Regions from separate parts of the Homo sapiens genome. Here region 2 is linked to region 1. The links are contacts of gene promoters, found by promoter capture Hi-C in human tissues and cell types (Jung and others, 2019). All regions are on one chromosome and are shown on one strand. Each heading gives the region's core, a stretch centred on a gene start or on the middle of the fragment in contact. The rest is flanking DNA. Distances are from core to core; before and after follow the strand shown.

The links. The method cuts DNA at HindIII sites, captures the fragments that hold promoters and counts their contacts. A contact is called where the count stands out against the background at its distance.
Region 2: a fragment that was not itself captured here is called in contact with the fragment with the promoter of EPHX4 in region 1 in 1 of the 25 tissues and cell types used here (dorsolateral prefrontal cortex).

What each region holds. Positions count from the first base shown.
Region 1 is chr1:92,027,850-92,031,890 of GRCh38, reverse strand. It overlaps EPHX4 (epoxide hydrolase 4), which reads right to left and starts at 1,906. Exons shown (of 7, transcript NM_173567.5): 1 at 1,581-1,906. The coding sequence starts at 1,811. It overlaps LOC124904218 (a long non-coding RNA gene), which reads left to right and starts at 1,504. Exons shown (of 2, transcript XR_007066222.1): 1 at 1,504-2,526. RefSeq lists an enhancer at 1,706-2,207. The HindIII fragment of the contact is 17,230 bases long and covers 117-4,041 here.
Region 2 is chr1:92,190,215-92,194,518 of GRCh38, reverse strand. No RefSeq gene overlaps it. Among named protein-coding and RNA genes, the nearest start is that of C1orf146, 26 kb to the left of the region's middle. The HindIII fragment of the contact is 9,202 bases long and covers 1-4,304 here.

The DNA of each region.
Region 1 (4,041 bases), core at 657-3,156:
GTGCGTTTCTAATAAGAGAATGCCCTGAGTGCTCAAGACTTCACTCTGCATGTAGGAGACAAGAAAACCCAAGGAAAATTAAAAAAACATGGGAATGAGTCAGGAATTCAAGCAAATACTAAGCAGGCTGAATTGAGGAAAGTAGAGGGAACAGCAGGAATAAAAATCTCTGAAAGCAAGCAAGCTAGGAAACAAAAAGAACCAAAAGCTAAACACAGACATTGGGTTTTTATAGCAGGCAACTCAAGCAACTGAGTTTTCAGATGTGAAAGAATCATTTTGCAGATTCAGAAGATGAGGCCCAAAGATGGTAACATGAGTCATAAAATGGTTGAGAGCAGGGCTGTGACCAGAATCTCCATCTTGTCCTAACTCCCAGGACAATGCTCTTTCCACTCGGTTCTCTGTCTCTGGGGAAGCTCTTTAGGCGGCCAGAGCGAGGGGAAAAGTGTTTTATGGAATTCCAGATGGTTCTTATACTACTTTTACCCCTCAGGTTGAACAGAGATAACAAATCTGACTTTACCCTCAGCTGCACGATGGCTTCCTAGAGGTTCAATAACTTTTTTTATTGGTGGTGAGTCTTGGAGGATTAAATGTTATGGGCACTGCAATGGATTTAATTAACAGATACTTTATTGCACTGACTATGCATCAGGCATTGTTCTAAGTTTTTCGTGTTTGTTTTTATAAATATTAACCTATTTAATTCTCATGTCGACCCCAGGCAAGAAAGAAGTTCTCTTGCCCTTCTGAACTTCAGCTGCGGGGCAATTTAGCTCCTAACAGGAAATAAGGACTTGGTGACATAAACATCCCCTCTTATGAGGCTGGGTTTGAAAGGCCTGTGAGTCAGACTGCAGGGTGTATCACGGGAACTATTTCCCTTCACCACCTGGAGCCTCAGGAAACAGAATATTTGTGGGCTGTGAGGAAGCTTGAACAATTAGCGTCTGCAGGCATGGCTGGATTTACCTTTTATTCCATTCCTTTCTTTGGTCCCTGACTTCATAAGTATGCATTCCTCCCCACAACACACACAATTTACTTATTGTTTCATGCAACCTAAGTCGTCTGTGATCATAATAAACTCATGACTCCCAAAGACTGACTGTTTACTCTTATTATCTCTAAAATTGGGCAAGAACAGCCTCCTGAGACATTAGGATGCCACGAGGAACAATTCTCTACAGCTGATCTGAGCTCTAAAGGGCAAAAGGGTGACAGGAGACAGCTTCCCCTTGCAGTAGGAAAAAGAGCAGGTTTATTCTGGGTTGTTGTGGCGCCGGGGGGCAGTAATATAAGAGGCCCCTGATTAGAGAAGTTCCACATTCAGAAACCAATCAAGGTGCCTGCAAAGACCGAGTGCTGTTTATCTGTATCTCTCTCTCTCTCTCTCTCTCTCACACACACACACACACACACACACACACGACACACAGGGACCCAACCCCTCCTCCCCTCCTGCCAGGACACTAGGGGACGCTGAGCCAGCGTCTCGGAAGGAGAAGCCCGGAGCCCCCCACCCTCGCGGCGGTCACGCTCCCTCCCGCTCCCGCCAGGCCCGCGCGGCCCTTCACCTTGATCCGCACGTAGCAGTGGGTGCCCAAGGAGGGGTCGCTCAGGCACGCGGGAGGGTGCTCCCGGGCGGGCCGCCGGAAGGTCTGCGCCGGCCCCTTGCCGAGGCTCCACAAAAGTTTGAGCAGGTGGATGGAGGCGCAGAGCCCGCAGTAGCAGTAGACCAGGGACCAGAAGAGCAGGGACCGGAGCGTGAGCATCAGGCGGGGCAGGCAATCCCGCAGCCTCGCCATTGGGAGGCGGCGGCGGGGCCCACTGCCCTTCCTCGGGAGCGGGTGAGCGAGCGCCGCAGCGCGCCAGGCCAGCCCGCCGTCGCCTCTCGACGCGCGCCTCCCCCGGCCCGGGGCGGCCGGCGTTCCGTGTCACCGCGGCGGCTCCGCACACGCGCCGCGCCCAGCCCGGAGCGCGCAGGGGAGAGCCGGGCCTGCGGGGTGCGGCGGGCCAGGCCGGGGTGCAGAGCTTGGCTGTCTTCCGCGGAGAGCGAGATCCCGTTTCAAAATCGCAAAACTGTGGGGGAGGATGAAGGCGAGACTTTCCCAAACCATCCTGGGCACCAAAGAAGGTAGCGCCACTCAGTCTTCTTTGTTGTTCTCAATGTATCAAGCAAAACTATTTCTAAGCCCACATATTCGTGTGTCATAGTTCAGGGACACAGGTCAGCGACAAACTTCCATGCTATTACACCCAAAGAGATTCTTTAGAGTGCAAAATCACTCTGCACTCTGAAAGATACCAGCCTTCCTCTTCTCAAAATCTTTCGTGGAATCATAATTTCTGTAGAAATCCGCCTATGCCTTGCCTGGTTCAGCCACAGCAAACTTACAGAGAGCTGCAACCCCAGGGATACAACGAATGCTTCAACAACGTGACGCGGCAGAAGCCTGGCCAGAAGGCCACACACCTGAGAGTTCGTCGAAGGGCTGGAAGCCGTGAGAGTGACAGTCCTCGGTAGGTATCTCAGCCTCAGCACCGACATGGCCACTCTTGTCCTGACCTCTTCTATCGTCCAGTTCACTGTTAGAATTTCATTAAGCCTTTTCCCAATCACCGGGTCAGGTATTAAGTGTTCATTTTTTATGAGAAACTGTCAAACTGGTTTCCAAAGTGGCTGTACAATTTTGAATTTACTTCAGCATGTGTGAGTTATACAATTGACCTTTGAACAATGCGGGGGGTTAGGGTTGCTGAACCCTTTCACATCTGAAAATCCATGTATAACTTTTGAGTTCCCCCAAACTTAAGTACTAATAGCCTACTACTGACCAAAACAATTAACATATGTTTATGTATTACATACTGTATCTTTATAATTAAGAAAAATGTTAAAATCATAAGGAAGAGAAAATACATTTACTATTCATTAAGTGGAAGTGGATTATCTTAAGAGTGTTCATCCTTGTCATCATCAGGTTAGGTAAGCTGAGGAGGAGAAAGAAGAAGGGAGGTTGATCTTCCTGTCTTGGGGTGAGGGGGAGGGAAGAGGTGGAAGAAAATCCATGTGTAAGTGGACCTACACAGTTCAAACACATGTTGTTTGAGGGTTAACTGTATTTTGCTCTTTTTTTCTAGGGTCTTGAGTTAGGAACTTATTGAGACCTTTGCAATTTCTAATGCAATCATTTAGCACCTATACATTTCTCTCAGTACTCTTTTTATTTTATTTTTTGAGACGGAGTCTCACTCTGTCGCCTAGACTGGAGTGCAATGGCGCGATCTCCATCTCAGCTCACTGCAAGCTCCGCCTCCCGGGTTCACGCCATTTTCCTGCCTCAGCCTCCTGAGTAGCTGGGACTACAGGCGCCCGCCACCATGCCCGGCTAAGTTTTTTGTATTTTTGGTAGAGACGGGGTTTCACCGTGTTAGCCAGGTTAGCTCGTGAACCGCCCGCCTCAGCCTCCCTAAGTGCTGGGATTACAAGTGTGAGCCACCGCGCCTGGCATCTCTCAGTACTCTTTAATCGTATTACATATGTGTTGATATGTTGTATTTTGCCATTTGTTATGTATTTTTTAAAATGTCCTGTTTTAGGTTGGGTGCTGTGGCTTACGCCTATAATCCCAGCACTTTGGGAGGCTGAGGCAGGAGGATCGCTTGAGCTCAGCAATTCAAGACCAGCGTGGGCAACATGGCAAAACCCTGTCTCTACAAAAAATAGAGAAATTAGCCAGGTGTGGTGGTGCACGCCTGTAGTCCCAGCTACTTGGGAGGCTGAAGTGGCAGGATCGCCTTAGCCCTGGAAGGTTGAGGCTGCAGTGAGCCAAAATCATGCCACTGCACTCTAGCCTGGGTTAAAGAGTGAGATTATGTTTCAAAAAATGAAAAACAAAACAAAACAAAACAAAAAACAGGGCCGGGGGTGGTGGCTCACATCTGTAATCCCAGCACTTTGGGAGGCTGAGCTGGTCAGATCACCTGAGGTCAGGAGTTTTGGACCAGCCTGGCCAACATGTTGAAACCCCATCT
Region 2 (4,304 bases), core at 1,693-4,192, 160 kb before region 1:
CAGGCTGGAGTGCAGTAGCACAGTCTCGGCTCACTACAACCTCCATCTCCCGGGTTCAAGCGATTCTCCTGCCTCAGCCTCGCCCTCAGCTAGGATTACAGGCACATGCCACCACGCCTGGCTAAGTTTTGTATTTTTAGTAGAGACAGGGTTTTACCATGTTGACCAGGCTAGTCTTGAACTCCTGACCTCAAGTGATCCTCCCGCCTCAGCCTCCCAAAGTGCTGGGATCACAGGCATGAGCCACCATGTCCAGCCAAAAAAATATTTTTTTAAAAATGCAATAAGAATATCAATAAAGAATAATATTATACAAACAAAAAATACAGTCGAACAACTATTTATATAGCACATACATTGTATTAGGTATTAGAAGTAATCCAGAGATGATTTAAAGTAGGAGGATTGTGCCTAGGTGTTATGCAAATACTACATCATTTTATTTTATTTTTTAATTTTTAAAATAAAAATTTTATTTTTATTTATTAAAAAATAAAACTGGCCAGGTATGGTGGCTCACTCCTGTAATCCCAGTACTTTGGGAGGCTGAGGCAGGTGGATTGCCTGAGCTCAGGAATTCGAAACCAGCCTGGGCAACATAGCAAAACCCCATCTCTACTAAAAATACAAAAAGTTAGCCAGGTGTGGTGATGGCCGCCTGTAGTCCCAGCTACTCGGGAGGCTGCGGCAGGAGAATCACTTGAAGCCAGGAGGTGGAGCTTGCAGTGAGCCGAGATCGCAACACTGCACTCCAGCCTGGGTGACAGGGAGATTGTCTCAAAAAATATATATATATATATTTTATTTATTAAAAAATTTTAGAATTTTTTTCTATGTCTGTGAAAAATAACATTGGAATTTTCATAGGGATTACATTGAATCTGTTGATTGCTTTGGATAGTATGGACATTTTAATAGTATTCTTCAAATCCATAAACACAGAATATCTTTCTATTTACTTGTCTTCAATTTATTTCACCAATGTTTTATAGTTTCCAGTGTACATATCTTTTACCTCTTTGGTTAAATTTATTCTTTTTTTGGTGGGGGGTTGCTACAGAGGCTCACTCTGCTGCCCAAGCTAGAGTGCAGTGGTGTGATCTCGGCTCACTGTAACCTCTGCCTTCTGTGCTCAAGTGATTCTCCTGCCTCAGCCTCCCAAGTAGATAGGATTACAGGCACACGCCACTGTGCCCGGCTACTTTTTTGTATTTTTCATAGAGACGGGGTTTCATCGTGTTGGCAAGGCTGGTTTCAAACTCCTGACCTCAGGTGATCCACCTGCCTCAGCCTCCCAAAGTACTGGGATTACAGGCGTGAGCCACCATGCCCAGCCTTTTTTTTTTTTTTTTTTTTTTGAGACAGAGTCTCACTCTGTTGCCCAGGCTGGAGTGCAGTGCAGTGGCAGGATCTCGGCTCACTGCAACCTCTGCCTCCCAGGTCCAAGTGATTCTCGTGCCTCAGCCTCTTGAGTAGCTGGGACTACAGGTGCCTGCCACCACACCCAGCTAAATTTTTTTGTATTTTTAGTAGAGATGGGGTTTTGCCATGTTGGCCAGGCTGTTGATATGAACAGGAGACAGGGAAATGCTGGGTAGAAGAGGATGGTTCCCCGGCAAAAACCCCACCCTTAAGCACAGATACCCCCACAGCCCTAAATAAGAAGAGGCATTTCTGTTTTCACACCCTGTTTCACCTTTTGGCCCACCACACCCCTATCCTGTCCCCATATAACCCCCTGAACCTCAAACTCCAGAGCAGATTAGCAAGTGAGGAGACAAGGAGGCAAGCAGACGGGTAGTGGAACAAAACGTGGAGGAGAAAGGGAAAAGAAGAGAAACGTCTGGACATCAAAAGGAATTCAGATGGGGGTGGTTGGAGAAGAGTCTGGTGGCTGGGCAGCCTGGCTCCAGGAGAAGATCACCTTCTCACTCCATCTCCCTTTCTGGCTCCCCATCCATCTTGCTGAGAGCCGCCTCTACCACTCAACAAAACCTCGCATCCATCCTTCAAGGCCGCGTGTGATCCGATTCTTCCAGGACACTGGGCATGATCTCAGGATACAGAAAGCTGTCACACTGGCCCTCTGCCCTTGTGATAAGGCAGAGGATCCACTGAGCTGATTAACACTCAAGCCATCTGCAGACGGCAAAGCTGAAAGAGCTTCATAACACTAGGGTTGCAGGCACCCACTCCTAGACACTACCGTGGAGCTGGAGCCCGAAGCACTGGCCCCGACCTCTGCACCTGCCCATCTGCATGCTCCCCCTTTCTCAAGGGAGCCACACCCCTGTTGCACATCCTGCCTCCTGCAAGGGGAATCAAGCAACTCTCCCCTTTCACTGGTCTCAACTCCTGACCTCAAGTGATCTGCTTGCCTCAGCCTCCCAAAGTGTTAGGATTACAGCCATGAGCTACCACGACCGGCCATACACCATTTTATATAAAGACCTTGAACATCTGAAGATTTTGCTATCTGTAGGGGTTCTGGAATCAATCCCCTGGAAATACCAAGGTACTATTGTGCAGAAATAGCTTGATTGGTTACAGCTGTGAGTCTGCCTTATTTGGACATGGTCTGATCAGTTGGTAGCCTGTGATAGCAGAAGCTCAGCTGTTTAGGATTGGCTGAGACTCAGTTGTTTATTATACTCTTAAATTAGTTTTCAGTTTGTTATGTACTAAGTTAAGTTGCAGTTTCTTAAGTAGAAACTCAGATTATGGAGACAACCTCAGACCAATGGTCTCCTGCTTATTTAACAAAGTAGATTGTGCATGTATATATACACACATATATATGTATGTATATATTTCATCTCCCCAGTTGACTAGATTATATTTTTGAGAGCTGCATGGATGTAAGTAAAAGAATAATTTTGTGGAGTATTAGACATTTTCTTTCTTAAGCATGTAATTGTTTAAATGCAGGTATATTTCAGTTGCATTTTTTTTTAACTCAGCTCATTTGCCAGGCTAAAATTAAGCATGGAATTGAAAGAAAAGAGGTAAACTTCAGTACAGTCTATATTCATGACAGCCCTTATCTGGAAAAATGTCATGTCTCTGAATAAAAAGATTGTTTTTCCTAGTATATCCCTGATTTGGAAATTCAATGTTTAATTGATTGGGATGGTGTTATGAAAATACAGCATCAGGGGCTGGGCAGGGCTGGGCCACACCTGTGATCCCAGCACTCTGGGAGGCTGAGGTATGAGGATTACTTGAGCCCAATTCAAGACCAGCCTGGGCAACAAAGTGAGACCCCATCTCTAAAAAAAAAAAAAAGCCAGGCATGGTGGTGCATGGTCGTGCATGTGGTAGCTACAGGGAGGCTAGGGTGGGAGGATTTCTTGAGCCCAGGAGGTCAAGGCTGCAGTGAGCCGTGATTGTGCCACTGCACTCCTGCCTGGGCAACAGAGCAAGTCCGTGTCTCAAAAATAAAAATAAAAATACAGCATCAGAGTAGAATTGAAATTCTCAAATTAGAATTAAAATTCTTATGCTAATATTGGTTAAGTTTGGAAGTAATTAAGAAACCACTCTATGAGAGGTAAATCACAAACACTAAACACTAAAACTCGTACAATATTAACATGATAGAAATGTACACTTTTCATACCTAGCTAAGCCAGATTCAAAATAGTCTTGGTATTTGAATTTACAAAATAAAAAGTATATAACTGGAGAAGAATATATAGATAATCAGAACTCCAAAATAGCCCCTGCAATAGATCAAAACTGAGTCAAATAAAGTACCCTGCCCTCCCACCCCCTACCCCCCCGCCAAAACTAGCAGGAGATGGAGTGGCGGTTATTAAGATCATGGTTTATTAGGTTTCTGAATTTTGAAAGACAATATATTATGTATCTTGGGTGTGTCAACTGCATCTCAAATGTGACATGTCCAAATTGAAAATTATCTTTTTTCCAACCAGGAACCATCAGCTTTCCATTCATCATAACCTGTTAGAATGCAAGTGATCTTAATGAAACAGTCCTATTTGTTTGCCTTTGATTTTTAAATTCTTCAGATGTTTGCCTAAATGGCTTGCTCATAGTCTTTGTCCACCACCTACAGGGCTCATCATGTGTTGGTCTGCCGGCGCATTTCCAGCTTTATCTTCACTGCTGTCCACACGCATTTGGTGCTTTAGATATTCAACACCTGAAGTTCCTTGAAATGCCACCTATCAGTTGATACTCTTTGTGCTTAATCTTACTTCCTCTTGCCTCTTTCTTGATGATCCTTGATTCATTGATCATTTCCAACTTTTTATTTTTAAAGTGCTGAAATCATTTTTATC